Linked DNA regions of Homo sapiens: region 2 is linked to region 1. Evidence: promoter capture Hi-C in 16 types of primary human blood cells and fetal thymus (Javierre and others, 2016). All regions are on one chromosome and are shown on one strand. The core of a region is centred on a gene start or on the middle of the fragment in contact, and the rest is flanking DNA. Distances in the headings are between cores, read along the strand shown. Region 1 holds the start of SLC16A4 (solute carrier family 16 member 4). Region 2 overlaps SLC6A17 (solute carrier family 6 member 17).

Region 1 (7,198 bases), core at 2,013-4,512:
AATCATGTGAGTCAATTCTCATAGTAAATCAACCTTAATATCTCCTCCCCCATCACTGGTTCTTGCTCTGGAGAATATTCTATTCTTTCTCGAGAACCCAGACTCATTCAACCCCTCAGGTTTGATAATTCACTAGGATGACTCACAGGACTGAGCATTTAGTTGTTGTACTTACATGGTTTATTAAAGTGAAAGGATACAAAGCTGACTCAACAAAGGCAAAAGGAGGATGGGGCAAAGTCCAGAAGAAACCAGGCAGAAGCTTGCAAGAATTCTTCTATCAGTGAAGATACACAGGATGCAGTTAATTCCTCCAGCAATGAGTTGTAACAACATGTGTGAAATGTTGCCAATCCAGAAAGCTTAGTAGAGACTCAGTGCCCAAGGGGGCTGGTCACCAAAGTACCCTCTCTGCCTAGCACATATCAAAATTCCAAGCTCCCGAAAAAAGCAAATGTTCAGCATAAAAATTGTATTGTTTACATAGTTTAAGCACAATGATTCACTATTATCATTTAAGGAATGGTAGGAACCCTCCTGAAATCTAAGTTCCCAGTTGCCAGCCAGAGGCCAACCATGTAAACAGGCCTTTCAAAGAATAGGAATCTCAGGCCAGCGATGTTAACTCTTTTCTGAACAAGGATTGAATGAGGGCAAGGAGAGAGTCAACTAAAAATAAAGTATCTTAATTCTAGTTGGTAAAGCTTATTAAAGTCTAAATCCATAAGTGTTAAAAATTATTCCTGGGCTGGCTATGTTTGACACTGGGATGGGGGTAATAGTGGTGATTGCCAAATCATGCTGCATTCTTGCTGAATAGCTTTAGGGCCAAGAGTTAAAAGGTTAGAAGTTGAGGGAATTGTTTATGTTTCGTTAAAGACCCTACAAGCTTTATTAAGACAATTGGGTACAGATGCCAAAATGTTAACTAATATCCCAAAGGTGGCTTAAGAATTCTTTCTTCTTGCTATTAGGCCTCATTTGACTAACAAAAATTATTTTTCATGAACCAAGTACCAATAGTAGGTCCAATGTGCAGTCATCTTACATTATATATTGTTAATCCTCACAACAACCTTGCAAAATATTAGCTACGCTTTAGAGTTTTAGAAACAGACTCAAAGAGAGTAAATTGCCCAGAGTCTACGGGCTTAAAAACTGACAAAATTGAGATTATCACCAAGCCTGCATTTCTGTTCATGTGCCTCTATGAAACATATGTTTGAAGTTCATCTCTGATTACTTTGCTGTCCTCTTGGCCTCTATGAATGACTTGCTGTTCTGCCGCATTTCAAATCTGACCCCAGGCATTAGCATCAGAGTTCTCTATCAATATAAAGCCTATTATAAGACAAAGATGAATAGGAATATATACACACATATATAATGTATTGTTTACATAGGTTAGGCACAATGATTCACTATTATCATTTAAGGAATGGTAGGAACCCTCCTGAAATCTAACTTCCCAGTTGTATATGTTCCTATATGTATATGTGTGTATATATATATTCCTCTGTGTGTGTGTGTGTAAGAAAAATATATATATAGCCTAGCATCATTTCATCCTGTGATTAGAATTATGGATAGCTGGCTCCTTACAGTGGTTTATGCCTGTAATCCTAATACTTTGGGAGGTCAGGATGGGAGGATCGCTTGAGCCCAGGACATTGCAAACAGCCTGGGCAACAGAGTGAAACCCCCATCTCTTAAAAAAAAAAAAAATTAATTAGCTGAGCATGGTGGTGCATGCCTGTAGTCCCAGCTACTCAGGAGGCTGAGGTAGGAGGATTGCTTGAGCTGGGGAGGTCAAGGCTGCAGTAAACCATGATTATGCCACTGACTCCAGCCTGGGCAATAGAGCAGGCCCTGTCTCAAGAAAAAAAGAAATCATAGATAGCCCTGCTTTAAAAGAGCAACAAGCGTGCCACCAAAAAAATAAATAAATCAGTCTTGTTTACTAAAAAATGTTTTCAGGCTGGCCACGGTGGCTTACGTCTGTAATCCCAGCACTTTGGCAGGCTAAGGCAGGCGGATTGCCTGAGCTCAGGAGTTTGAGACCAGCCCGGGCAACACGGTGAAACCCCGTTTCTACTAAAATACAAAAAATTAGCTGGGCGTGGTGGTATGCGCCTGTAGTACCAGGTACTTGGGAGACTGAGGCAGGAGAATCACTTGAACACGGGAGGCAGAGGTTGCAGTGAACCGAAATTGCACCACTGCACTCCAGCCTGGGCGACAGAGTGAGACTCTGTCTCAAAAAAAAAAAAGTTGTCTAGAGTGTATTCATAATTACAAACAGCTCTCTGAAAAGCATTTATTTGCCTTCTCTCTTTGGGTTTTCTCCTTCTGTTGAATGTTTATTTGATCCTTGCCACCAGCATCATGTAACTGCATAATCCTTCCATGCTTACACTTACAGGGCACCCTCCCAAACCACTAAGCTGTCCTTCTGCAAGCACTTTAATCAAAAAGTATTATAGAGTTTGATTTTAAGAATCTGAGAAGCCTCTTGCTTCTTAAAAAGGAACATGCATAAATATGTGCAGATTTTCCAGATAAAACTAAAAACACATCCTTTCGTCTAAAATATACTCTGGTTTAAAATCTGGAATATTGGTGTGGGAGACGAAAGACAATTTCCCATTTGACTTGTTTGTTTTGTTTTGTTTTATGTGGAGGGTAGAGGGAGGAAATGGGAAGAGAAAGTTGAATTATCCCAGTAATTTTCTAGGGGTCTCAGCCTTAACCATTTCCAAAATATAATAAAAAAAATCTCATTAAAATTACTACGAGCATACGTCTTTTGCAGGAGGTGGTTGAGGTAATCAGATCTCAAAAATGCAATTAAAATGGGGTCTGAAACCCCAAATTAGTAACCAGAATCTTTAGTCAATATACAAAAGGCCACACGAATGGGTTGAGCTTACTGAAGATTTCTGTTTGTGGCCCAGGAAATGCCTCTCTCACCACCCATCCAGGAGTTTTATATTCTCCTGTAAAATAAGCATGTTGTGAGAAGTTCCCTGAGGAAATTTGAAGACAAGTGTATGAGAGCTCTGGAGCCCCATCCCCCTGCCCTGAGCATAGTCGCCAAAAGGACTTTCCACTTAGTTTACTTCATGCTTGCTTTTGAGCCTGCGGCAAAAAATTCTACCTTCTGAGTGACTGTGGGTGGAGGGAGGGCCTGAGATGACATCAAATCACAGTCTTTCCTCCTCCCCTCAGGAAGTAAAGTCCACTAGCAGGAGGGCCTAAATCGTCTGAGCCCTCCTTGGCTCTTACAATGCTCACTTGTTTTCACAATGCAGCAAAATGAAATGCCTTAGAAAAAGAGTAACATTCCAGAAAACGGTGTAATTTATTTTTCTTCCTTAATTGCCCCATCTGTGGAGGATTTCTTTGCTGAACACCACATCAAAGGTAAGATGGGAATGGGACTGTGTGCTGGGTTGGTTTTCTAACAACGACTGGCATCTCTCCCCACCCAGCCTGCTCACCAGATGGCCATTCCGCATACCCTGCCAGCTGACTTTCCTTTCCAGTTAGAAACAGTCAGCCTTCGACCCGACAGGGGAAATAATGAGTACTGTTCCCCCTTCCTCAGAACATTTACATTTTCTTTTTGCTATCATTCTTTATATACACTTGTTTATTTTACGGAACCGATTGGGAGAAGGTAGCATAGTGTCATGTTACTCCTGAATACTTTAGCATGTATCTCCTAAGAATATTCTCTTGTGGAAGAGGTTCCAAGAGGTTAACCTTGGTACAGTATTCTGTATTATACAGTCCATATTCAAATTTCCCCAACTGTCCCCACAAACTGTCTTTTACAACTTTTTTTTCTGATCTAGGATATATTCAATAAGCGGGTATCGCATTTCGTTGTCATGTCTGTTTAGCTCCAAAAATATTTACATTTAGCAAGTGTTTTCTAAGGAGAATTCCTAAACTCAAGGCTCGCCTTCCCTTTCTATTTCTCTTAAGAGTTCACCCGGAGGACCAGCAGGGTGACGCACAGCTTCTCCAAGAAACTGGCTTGCAGACCTGGGGGGAGGGACACTGAGTACAGTTCTAGGAGTGGCCACCCCACAGTCACTGAGATCAGGCTTTCCAGGTAACTAAGTCCTTAGTTGCATCAGGCAGACTTCATCTGTAACTGAGGGGTTAAAAAAAAATTACAAGTGGTTTTATATCATAGGGAAAGAGGTTTTTTTTCTGTTTTGTATTACATTTCAACTTTTATTTTAGATTCAGGGGGTACATGTGTAGGTTTGTTACAAAGGCATATTGTCTGATGCTGAGATTTGGAGTATAATTGAACCCCTCACCCAGATAGTGAGCACAGCATCCAATAGGGAGTTTTTCAACCCTCCTCCCTCCCTATCTTGTAGTCCCCAGTGTCTGTGGTTCCCCTCTTTATGTCCATATGTACCCAATTTTTAGCTCCCACTTATAAGTGAGAACATGCAGTATTTGGTTGTTTCTGCATCAATTTGCTCAAGATAATGGTCCAGCTGCATCCATATTGCTGGAAAGGATATGATTTTGTTCTTTTTTATGGTGGCTGTGTAGTATTCCATGGTGTCTATGTATCACATTTTCTTTATCCAACCCACTGTTGATGAGCACGTAGGTTGATTCCATGTCTTTGCTATTGTGAATAATGCTGCAGTGAACATAAAAGTGCATGTGGCTTTTTGGTAGAACAATTTATCTTCCTTTGGGTATATACCCAGGAATGGGATTACTGGGTCAAATGGTAGTTCAATTTTTGGTTCTTTCAGAAATCTCCAAACTGCGTTGCACAGTGGCTGAACTAATTTGCATTCCCACCAACAATGTATGAACGTTCCCTTTCAGATAAAAAGTTTAAAAGTTTAGATTAGTTTCTGGTCCACTGAATCAACTGTCTTGGATTTATCACAGGGATCTTCTGCATTTAAAATAGAAGAGGCATCATGCTGAAGAGGGAGGGGAAGGTCCAACCTTACACTAAAACCCTGGATGGAGGATGGGGATGGATGATTGTGATTCATTTTTTCCTGGTAAGAATTCACTTTTTTCCCCCTTTCCTATTGCCTAAAAGCAGGCTTTCTGGAGAAAGGCTCAGAGCTGCCTACGAATAGGATCACTTAGGAAATCTTTGGCATCTGAGTGGAGGGGTGGGCAGGAACAAGGCCAGGAGCTGCCAAAAACTGCTAAAGTCAGAGGCCCATGCCGAACCCAGGAGAAAGTTGAAAATGCCCCTAGAGCAAAAGCAGAAATGTTCCTGGGCTGGGTGTGGGGGCTCACACCTATAATCCCAGCACTTTGGGAGGCCTAGGTGTGTGGATCACTTGAAGTCAGGAGTTCGAGACCAGCCTAGCTAACATGGTGAAACCCGATCACTACAAAAATACAAAAATTAGCTGAGTGCAGTGGCATGCACCTGTAGTCCCAGCTACTTGGGAGGCTGAGGCAGGAGAATTGCTTGAAATCAGGAGGTGGAGACTGAAGTGAGCCAAGATCGTGCCACTGCACTGCAGCCTAGGCAACCATGAGAGACTCTCTCAAAACAAACAAACAGAAGTGTTCCTGAATCCAGTCATCTACTCTTCCTATCATCTCTTAAACCTGAGAATGCTCAGTCACAATCAGCAGTTCTGTACTGGCTGCATGGCAATTAGGGTTTGGGGACAATCATACTTTTAACCATCCCAAAAGTAGCACTGGGAGGTGCTAAAAAGTGCTCTGGGGGTGATCTCCCCAGTTCAGCCCAGCATAGATAGAACACTGTGGGCACAGCCCCTTCTACCGATAAGGGGTGGGGACATTTCCTCTGTTTGGCCTGCTGTCTACTTCCCAATCCATCCCCACTAACTATAGTTTATGCTATCTATATTTCCGATGTGTTTGGAAAGGGAGGACAAGGATTTTGAAGGGGGAGCCTGATTCTTCTCCTTTACCCATAAGCAACTAGACGAGGCATTCCATTTTTTAAATTAACTTCTTTCCCTCACCCTCCCAGGGGTTGAGGTGTGAGAGTGGTGATCTGCATCATCAGCATGCCCATTCCAGAATGTTGGTGAACCCCAGCTATGCCCCACACAGCTCTCCAGAGAGTGGCACCAGCTGCACAATTCTTAAGTGTTTCCAGAGTTCTATTAACTTTGAGATGCACTCAAAAAAAAACACCCTTTTCTTGCCGACACTTCCCCCCTACTCAGCCCTACAGTAAGCAGCTCACGGGGAAAGGTAGCACAGGTCTTGGTGCCTTCTAATAATCCTATAGTTCACATGCAGATATCTAAGAATTCTACAAATAGGATGGTGGGAAAACATCAGGCCTCCTCCCTCGTGCTAGACAAGATAGGGGCAGAGGTCCCCAGCCAGGATTTATGTAATACAAAACTCTTAACACATAATAGTAGTACTTGCTAAACATTAGCTTCAGTACTAAACAATCTCATTTTCCCCCTAGAAATGTTACTAATAGGGAAACTAAAGGATGCCCTAAGTCTGAGAGCCCTTCCTGGGGCTGGGCCACCCCCCTAAATCATAGGCTTTGCAGAATAGGCACTGTTGGTGAGGATCTCTAATTCTCCTGCCTTTCTCCCCAGTAACCACCCTGACTTTTTCTACATTATCCTCTGAGGATAGAATGGTTTTTGATCAATTTAGTTGCTGATAGGAAAAACCATCTAATAACCAGATTAATAAACACTGTCCCACTTTTAGGGTGTGATACTGCTTACTAAGCACAAAAAATGCACTGGATCCTCAAAATGTTAACAATAAATTCAGGGGCTAATCCCCCACAGTTGTAATGTGGATACTTGAATGACTGTGCTTTTGTTTCTGTATGACTTACAACTGTTCTTTTCTATAACAGATGAGCTCCTAGTAAGTGAAAAATAACAATGTTCTTTGGGAGCTTCCTACTTAAAAAAAGAGAGAGAGATTCATTCTAACCAACTTACCACACTTTATATATTTGTATGACTGTTTTCTGTATTCAGTCTGTCTTACTAGACTGAATGTTCCATGGGGGCAGGGTCTATGTCTGCATTGCTCATGAGTATATGCTCATTACCGTAAGCCCAGTGCCAGTATACAGCCTGGAACATAGTAGGCACTCAGTAAAATACTGTTGGTGGATGGATAGATGGATGGATGAATTGATAGCTGCACACATTTATGAATAAACAAATAA
Region 2 (6,968 bases), core at 2,155-4,654, 190 kb after region 1:
TGGGTAAAGGGAGAAAGCTGCCAGGGAAAAAGGAGGCCAAGAGGGAAGGGAGGAAGATCAGAAAGTTGGGACACAGGCATAGGAACCTAGGAAGAGCTGACAAAAACAGAGGGCCCAGCCTGAGAGAGGCAGCTGGGTAAAGGTGCATGGGGCCAGGACTCCCAGCTCTGTGCACTGACCAGCTCGGGAGAGGGGAGCTCAGCCTCAGTCCTGAGGCCTCCAGAGAATGCCTCACCCTTGCTGAAGGTTTATTCTAGAACTCTGGGCTCACCTGTTACGTGTACCTCTCTGAGGGAGTCGATATGCTGCAGTTAGCACTATGGGACTTGTCCCCATCATTTCTTTGTGTGAGGTCTTGGTGTTCCCTCAAAACACAGAGCCGGGGAAGGATAGGAGAGCCCCCTGCCCAGGCTACTGTGACACAGCCTACCATGGATGTGAGGGTGCTGCCCTCTGGTGGTGCTAGAACATCCTGGCTCCAGACCTCGCCCTGAGCTCTGGGGGCTGTGATGTGGGCAGATGGGGTGGCAGCTGATTCTGGGCTTCCTGTTGATTCCAGGACCTCAGGTACATCTTCTAGCCTAACTCTGCCATTGGGACTCTGCCTACTCCCTCCCTTCTTCATTCCTCCAAGACCTTGATACCTGACAGGCTTAAGCAAGACCACAAAGCAGCCACTATTGGAAATTCCTAGTTCCCCAAGCTTCTTTCCCTCATTTTCACCTTTTCTCTTTTGTCCTCTCCTTAGTGCCCTGGCTTCTTCAGGCTGTCAGGGAAGAGCACCTGTCTGAAAGCCAGTTCACAGAAGGTGTCAGCCACAGCGGGTTTCCCTCATCAGGGGTGAGGGTGTGGTGAAAGAATAGGAAGAGAGGGCCATGGGAGATTCTAAAGGGGCACCGATGGAGGCTGTCAAGCACCTGCACCCTTTCCAGGCCCCCCCTCCACCCGCATAATAAGGTCCTCACCCTCTGAGTGCCGACGCTGACCCTGTCCGTAGGAAGCTGAAAGCCTGAAATCAAAGCCGTTTACCCTTCCCCTTTCCCCACTGGGAGCTTTGTATGGGCTCAGCCTCTTTAGGATGACTGGAGCCATCCAATCTCCTCTCCATCTTCCTTCTTTGAAACCTGTTTGTGGTGAGGGGCTCCAGGCCAAGGCAAGGTTCTATCCATTGGTGCTCACACTTTCCCTTTTTGGTATTCTAGCTCCTGCCAGGGACTGACCCTCCTTCAGGTCCAGGCCAAGGAGCCAGCATCCTTTCCCAGCATGCCTCACTCTCTCCCAGCCTGGAAAATTGAATTGCTTTATCAGACTCATTAGAGGGTGATAGGGCCTCCCCGCTCATGGGGGAACAAGAGAAGGGAAGGCAAGAGCAGGCTGGCAGCCTCCTGTCTGCGTCTCAGCTCACTTCATCCTGCCTCCCCCAACCCCAAGCAGCCTGCAGAGACTTGCAGGCTCCAAATCAAATGTGAGAGCCTTCTTTGGGGGGAGGGGGGTTGGTGGGGGAGGGGCTCTGGGGAGAACCTAGCCCTAGTAATTCAGGTCTTGTGAAGATCAGTAGAATGGCTCTGCCTCAGGACTGAAAGCAGGGTTGGGTTGCTGTGGTAATCCCAGTGAAGTTGTATCTGGGGCTCAAAGGTGGCCTTTGAAGGCCCAGCTCTTAAAGAGAAGAGATCAGAAGCTCGGGCCTGGGCAGGGCTCAGGGCCTCATACACTATGGACCTGGAGTCATAGGGTTGGAGGGGACCTGAGTGTTAGCTCATGGACACCTTCCCCCCGCTTAGGGATGTCAGGCCTAAGCAGCAGCAGCGAACTCTGAGAGACGGAGCTAGGGCTGGTGTTGGGCCAAGGACAGAGAACGATACGGGGGCCACCAGCTGAGTGGACCCTAGAGGCCTCCTTGTTTAAGGCTCCTGGGCTGGGAACTCAGCCTGCATCCAGACAGCACACTCCCGCCACCGCGCCTGCCACATGCACGCTAGCCCAGGGTCCGGCTGGCAAGACCTCTTGACACTTAGCATTTCTCCATCTAGAAAAGTAGAGATTGCTCCCACCTGGGCTAAGTTCCAGGAAAAACTGGTTCATTCCATTAGAGGAGTTAATTAGTCCTGATGGGCCCAGTCCCCTCCAGCAATATCCTGGGGAAAGGGGAAGCAGGTGTCTGGAGAGACAGGCCAAACTCAGGTTCCTCTTGGGTGCTCCTGAAGTCCAGGGATTCTTCCCTGCTTGGGTCAGCCCTGGGCAGAATGGAGGGACCCAGAACCCAGGCAGCTCAGACCCAGGGACAGAGAGCAGATCCCCACTGAGTCTTTATGCTCTGCAGCCAGGACTGTGCCTGGCATGGATCAATCTTTGTAAGGGTTTGTGGTTGAATGACAGGCATAGTCTTCTCCCATCTCAAGGTTTCTTCCCACCTAAGATGATGTAATTAAAGAATGCAGCAGCGTGCCTGGCACCAGTGAGTGTGCCAGGAAGGGAGATGCCCAAGTCAGATTGTGACTGCCTCTGCGAGCCAGGGACTCTTGCCTGGTCCTTTGTATATTCCCAGTGCTCAGCACAATCCCAGGCACTCAAAATACCTGATTCATGCTTGCTTGATGCATGGAATTAATGAGGCGGGGGGTGGCGGGGGAGGAGTCCTCCCTGTCAGTTTCTTGCTGTGTGGCAGAGAGTGCACTAGATTGGGAGTCAAGAAACCCAGGCATTGGCCCCGATCTTCCCCTTGCTTGGTTGTGGGAAGTCTGGTCTTTTCCTCTTTGGGCCTCCGTTTCCCCCATTGTTGTACAAGGAGGTTTGACCAGATAATCACTAAGGTTCATATTCTGGTTACTATTGTTATGAAACAAATTACCCCTAGTATGTAGTGATATAAACCCAACAGCCATTTTATTTTGTTTATTATTTTATGGGTCAGGAAATAAGGAAGGGCTCAGTTGAACAGTTCTTGCTTAGGGTCTCTTATGCAGCTACAATCAGATGTCAGCGGGCTGCAAACATCTGAAGCTCAGCTGGGCTAAACGTTCAGTATGCTGTGTTCATGTGGCTGGCAGTTGACACTGGCTGTTGGCTGGAAGCTCAGCTGAAGCTGTCAACCTAAGCATCTGCAAACATATCGCCTCCCTAGCATGGCAGTCTCAGGGTGGTTGGCTGTCTTACATGGCAGCTGGCTGCCTCTAGAATGAGTATCCCTAGAACACCAGGTGGAAGTGGCACGGCCTTTCCTAATCTAGCCTTGGAAGTCACATAGCATCACTTCTACTATACCCTGTTGGTCACAGGAAGCATTTGCTCACCCAGATTCAAGAGGAGGAGCATAGACTCCACTTTTGATGGGAGAAGTATTAAAAAGAATTTGGGGCCAACCAACAACAAAGAAAACAAAAACAAAACCCCACAATAGCCTTGTGGTCTGTGGAATACTTTAGCCTTGGCCCAAGTCCCTATGACTGGAGCTGTCTGGTGGTGACTGCTGGGGTGAACATGATAATGTACAGGATCAGTGAGACCCCCACACTCTGGTACTCCCTTTCCTGGAGAGAGTTCCTTTTCTGCCTTCCTTCCTTGGCTTCTCTGGATTTTAGGCTGAAACTGTCCTTTGTGAATAGCTTTAGGAGATGGCTCATTGCATGGGTGATGGGGCCCCCAGAATGAAGTAGGCCCCATGGCCTTGCCCAGGATCGCAAGAAGGAAGGAAGGAAATATTTAATGAGCACCTATTGTATCCCCATATGGAAAGAAGTCGATACTGTATTCCAGTAGATGTTACTGATGAAGTTCATTTTTCCCTCATACCATCTCTAAGGAAGAGATTTTATTGTCGTCCTCCTTTTACAGATCAGAAAATGGAGATTCCAGGGTTAAAGTGGCTTCCCCAAGGTGGTATGGTTGGCGACAGACCCATGATTCAAACCACTCATGCCACCTGCCCTGGGGCAAACCTGAGGCAGAAGCAGTGGCCTCACCTGTCCTCCTGCATGCCCTTCTCATCCTCCTCTGACTGCTCCCTCCACCCAGGGCCCAAACTTAACCACTCACCTCCCCACCAGAAATGACCTGCTGTGTGTCCCAGTTCTGTGTCTCTAAGCTGACATCCCCTCAGGAGAAGGCTTCCATGCATGTGCAGGTGACTGATGACAAAGATCCCTAACACTCTAGAATCAGCCCATTACATGGGCAGCCAGACTCTCCCCACTCCCCATCAACAAGGGGGGCTTCTGTGTGCCCTCCCCTTTATTTGGGCAGATGCTGTGACCCACAGAAGATGGTAGAGGTACTGTGCCATTTTCCAGCCCCAGGCCTTAAAAACCTGGCAGCTTCCACCTCCTGTCTCTTGAAATGGTCTCTCTGGGGACCCTAAGCCCTTCAGTCAGAAGTCTGGCCAAGTAGCCATGCTGGAGAGGCAGTTGTAGGTGCTCACTCTGGCCGGCAGGCCCAGCTGAACTCAGTCTTCCAGCCATTCTCACTGGAGTGCCCGGCATTTGAGTGAATGTGAGGGCAGCTGCCTTGGACCCTCCAGACTAGTTCGCTGCTAGTTGAATATCACTGAGTGACCTTGGTTGCCACCAGAAGAGTTGCTCAGACGAGTCCTGCCTGAATTCCTTACTCAGAAAACTGCGAGATAGAATGGTTGTTTTAAGCCGCTCAGACTTGGAGTAACTTGGAACACAGCAATAGATAACTGGACCAACATGTGTTATCTCATTGAATCTATTTATTATGTCTGTTTTACAGACTAGGACATTTAAGCTCAGAGCGATTAAATGACTCGCTCAAGGCCTCCCAGGAAGCAGGAAGCTGGGTGGCATTTGAACTTGAACTTGAGAAGTATGACTCTAGAGCTCCTTGGAACCAAAGCCCTTGTTATGCTGCATCTTGGTGGATCTGTGTGCCCCTCCTGGCAAGAGGGCTTGCATCTCAACCAAAAACATTACCTTCAACCAAAAGACTGAATACTTGACAAGGAGTGACTTTCAGCACCAGGCCATTTCCTGGTTTGAAAGATACATGGGGAGATGTGGAGTTATAGGGCCGGTCCCCTCCCTCTGCCAAACTCAGGACAGCAGGGGCTGATTTTATCTTTATTCATCTATAGCTGGCATGGAGCCTGTCCAGGGTGGGTACGTAATAAATGTTTGTTCAACAAATAAACTAACCCACAAAGGAATAAATGACAGAGAGGAAGGCAAGCAGACTATGATCTGGCGAGAAAGGTTTTCCTGCCATCTGGTGGCTATTCCTGGAACAACACTTTCTATGGCAAGAGAAGAAAATGGCAGGTTCCTTCAGGGTCCTTGGCTGTGTGCGTCTGAGTGCAAGCAGCATCATTCCAGCCTGGAGCTGGGTGGGGTGGGGGTGAGGCCTCCTCCAGGAGCCAGACTTCTTGTTTCTTTCAATGTCGGTGCTCCTAGAGGGTGAGGCAGGAAGAAGAGCTTCCCAGCCACCAGCACAGTCCGTTCTTCACAGTGCTGAGTATTCAGTGGGTGTTTAATAAATGAATACTTGGGGCTGGAATGTTAGAACAGAGGTGATGTCAGATCCCCTAGTTCGTCTTTACCTTCTACTGAAGTTTGCAAGAGGGATAGCTATCTTGAAGAGAGGGGCAGAACTTTAGAATATGCCTGTTCCAGGGGAGCCCACCCCCCCCCCAACCCAGCACCCAAGAGAGTCCTGGTCCTTGCTGTCAGACCTCTCAACACTGGCACCTTCCCACCCCTGTCCTTCCCTGAGGTGGGCCTCCACACACCCCACCCTTGCCAGGCTGACAAGTATAGCTTTTCCTGGTAGTCAGGTGGGACAGGAGTTTCCCCTACAGGGTCCTGTAAGAGACCACCAAATACCATCCTAATTTCAGATGCAGTTTCACCTGGAAAAATGTAGCCAGCAAAGGGTCTCCCTTAGGAAACGGTTGCAAAGATGACAGGAAATTAGACATGTGGAATCGCTGGACCCCAATAGGGCCCTCTACAAGTGTGTGCATTGTTAATACCTAGGACAATTCATAGGAAAATACAGATATGAACCTGTGCACACTCCCCGCGCTGCTCCTCAGCCAGCCAGCACCCACAACCCCCCTCAGCAGTCCTGTCCACCCATCCCAGTCCAAGCTTTTCACCCCAAAGCTTCCCGCAGGATCCTTGGCCACCCTTCCCTCTCCCTCATTGCAAGAGCAGGTGAGAAAGGCAAGAAGGGTTTGGTAAGAACAGACACTTTATTGCACACTATGGTGGGGGAGAGAGGAAGAGGGGTCTAGGGTGACAATGCCTCATCCCCTCCCCTGGGCTGAGTGGTTTTGACCCAGGGCTCTGACCAGCCATGGGACACATGGACTTGAATTGTTCTGAACTTATGCCAGAACCCAAAGTGACGGCCTGGTGTGTATGCTTGGGTCTGTATAAAGCAGAGCTTTCAATGAGAAGAGGCCCTAGGCCCCCTCCCCCAGCCAAAGTCATCGGGCCCCAGTGAAGCAGCAGACCTCACATCTCAGGGCCTATTTGAAGGATCCAGGGATGCTCAGGGAGCCAGGTTCATTCTAACCAGTTTAGTTTCCAGCTCTTTTCACAGTGGGGAGTACTCTGGGGGAGTGGGGTGGGGCGTGGGGGTGAGGAAGGGCAGAAAAGCAGCCCCTCCGCCTGGTAATACTGCAGGCCTGTGCAGTGCCTGGGACCGTGTCTCCTGGGCCCCAGCCTCATGACCCACACAGGCTGACTCGGAGCGGGGGTTCTCCTGGCACTGGGAAAGCAGCAACCCCTGCACATGTATTGCTGGAGGGCAGAAGCTGACCTCACTGGCATTAACTGATGTGCCCTACCTGTTCAGCCCCCATCTGGGCCTCGGGCTTCATGTTGCCTCAGTGAGGAGGGCGGAAGTCTCCCTGAGCAAGAAGCTGGTGATGGGGCTGGAGGGCAGGCAGAGGTAGGGGATCAGGGGACTGTTGACTCTTTCAGGCACATCCCTGCCCTGGAGTTCCCTCT

What was found. The method cuts DNA at HindIII sites, captures the fragments that hold promoters and counts their contacts. A CHiCAGO score of 5 or more calls a contact.
Region 2: a fragment that was not itself captured here is called in contact with the fragment with the promoter of SLC16A4 in region 1 in 11 of 17 cell types (M2 macrophages, total B cells, naive B cells and 8 more); the score reaches 10.6 in M2 macrophages.

What each region holds. Positions count from the first base shown.
Region 1 is chr1:110,387,090-110,394,287 of GRCh38, reverse strand. SLC16A4 (solute carrier family 16 member 4) reads left to right here and starts at 3,262. Exons shown (of 9, transcript NM_004696.3): 1 at 3,262-3,423; 2 at 4,933-5,051. The coding sequence starts at 4,965. The HindIII fragment of the contact is 6,987 bases long and covers 892-7,198 here.
Region 2 is chr1:110,201,421-110,208,388 of GRCh38, reverse strand. SLC6A17 (solute carrier family 6 member 17) reads right to left here. Exons shown (of 12, transcript NM_001010898.4): 12 at 6,187-6,968. Among named protein-coding and RNA genes, the nearest start is that of KCNC4-DT, 5.1 kb to the left of the region's middle. RefSeq lists silencers at 358-407, 418-477 and an enhancer at 5,294-5,343. The HindIII fragment of the contact is 5,398 bases long and covers 706-6,103 here.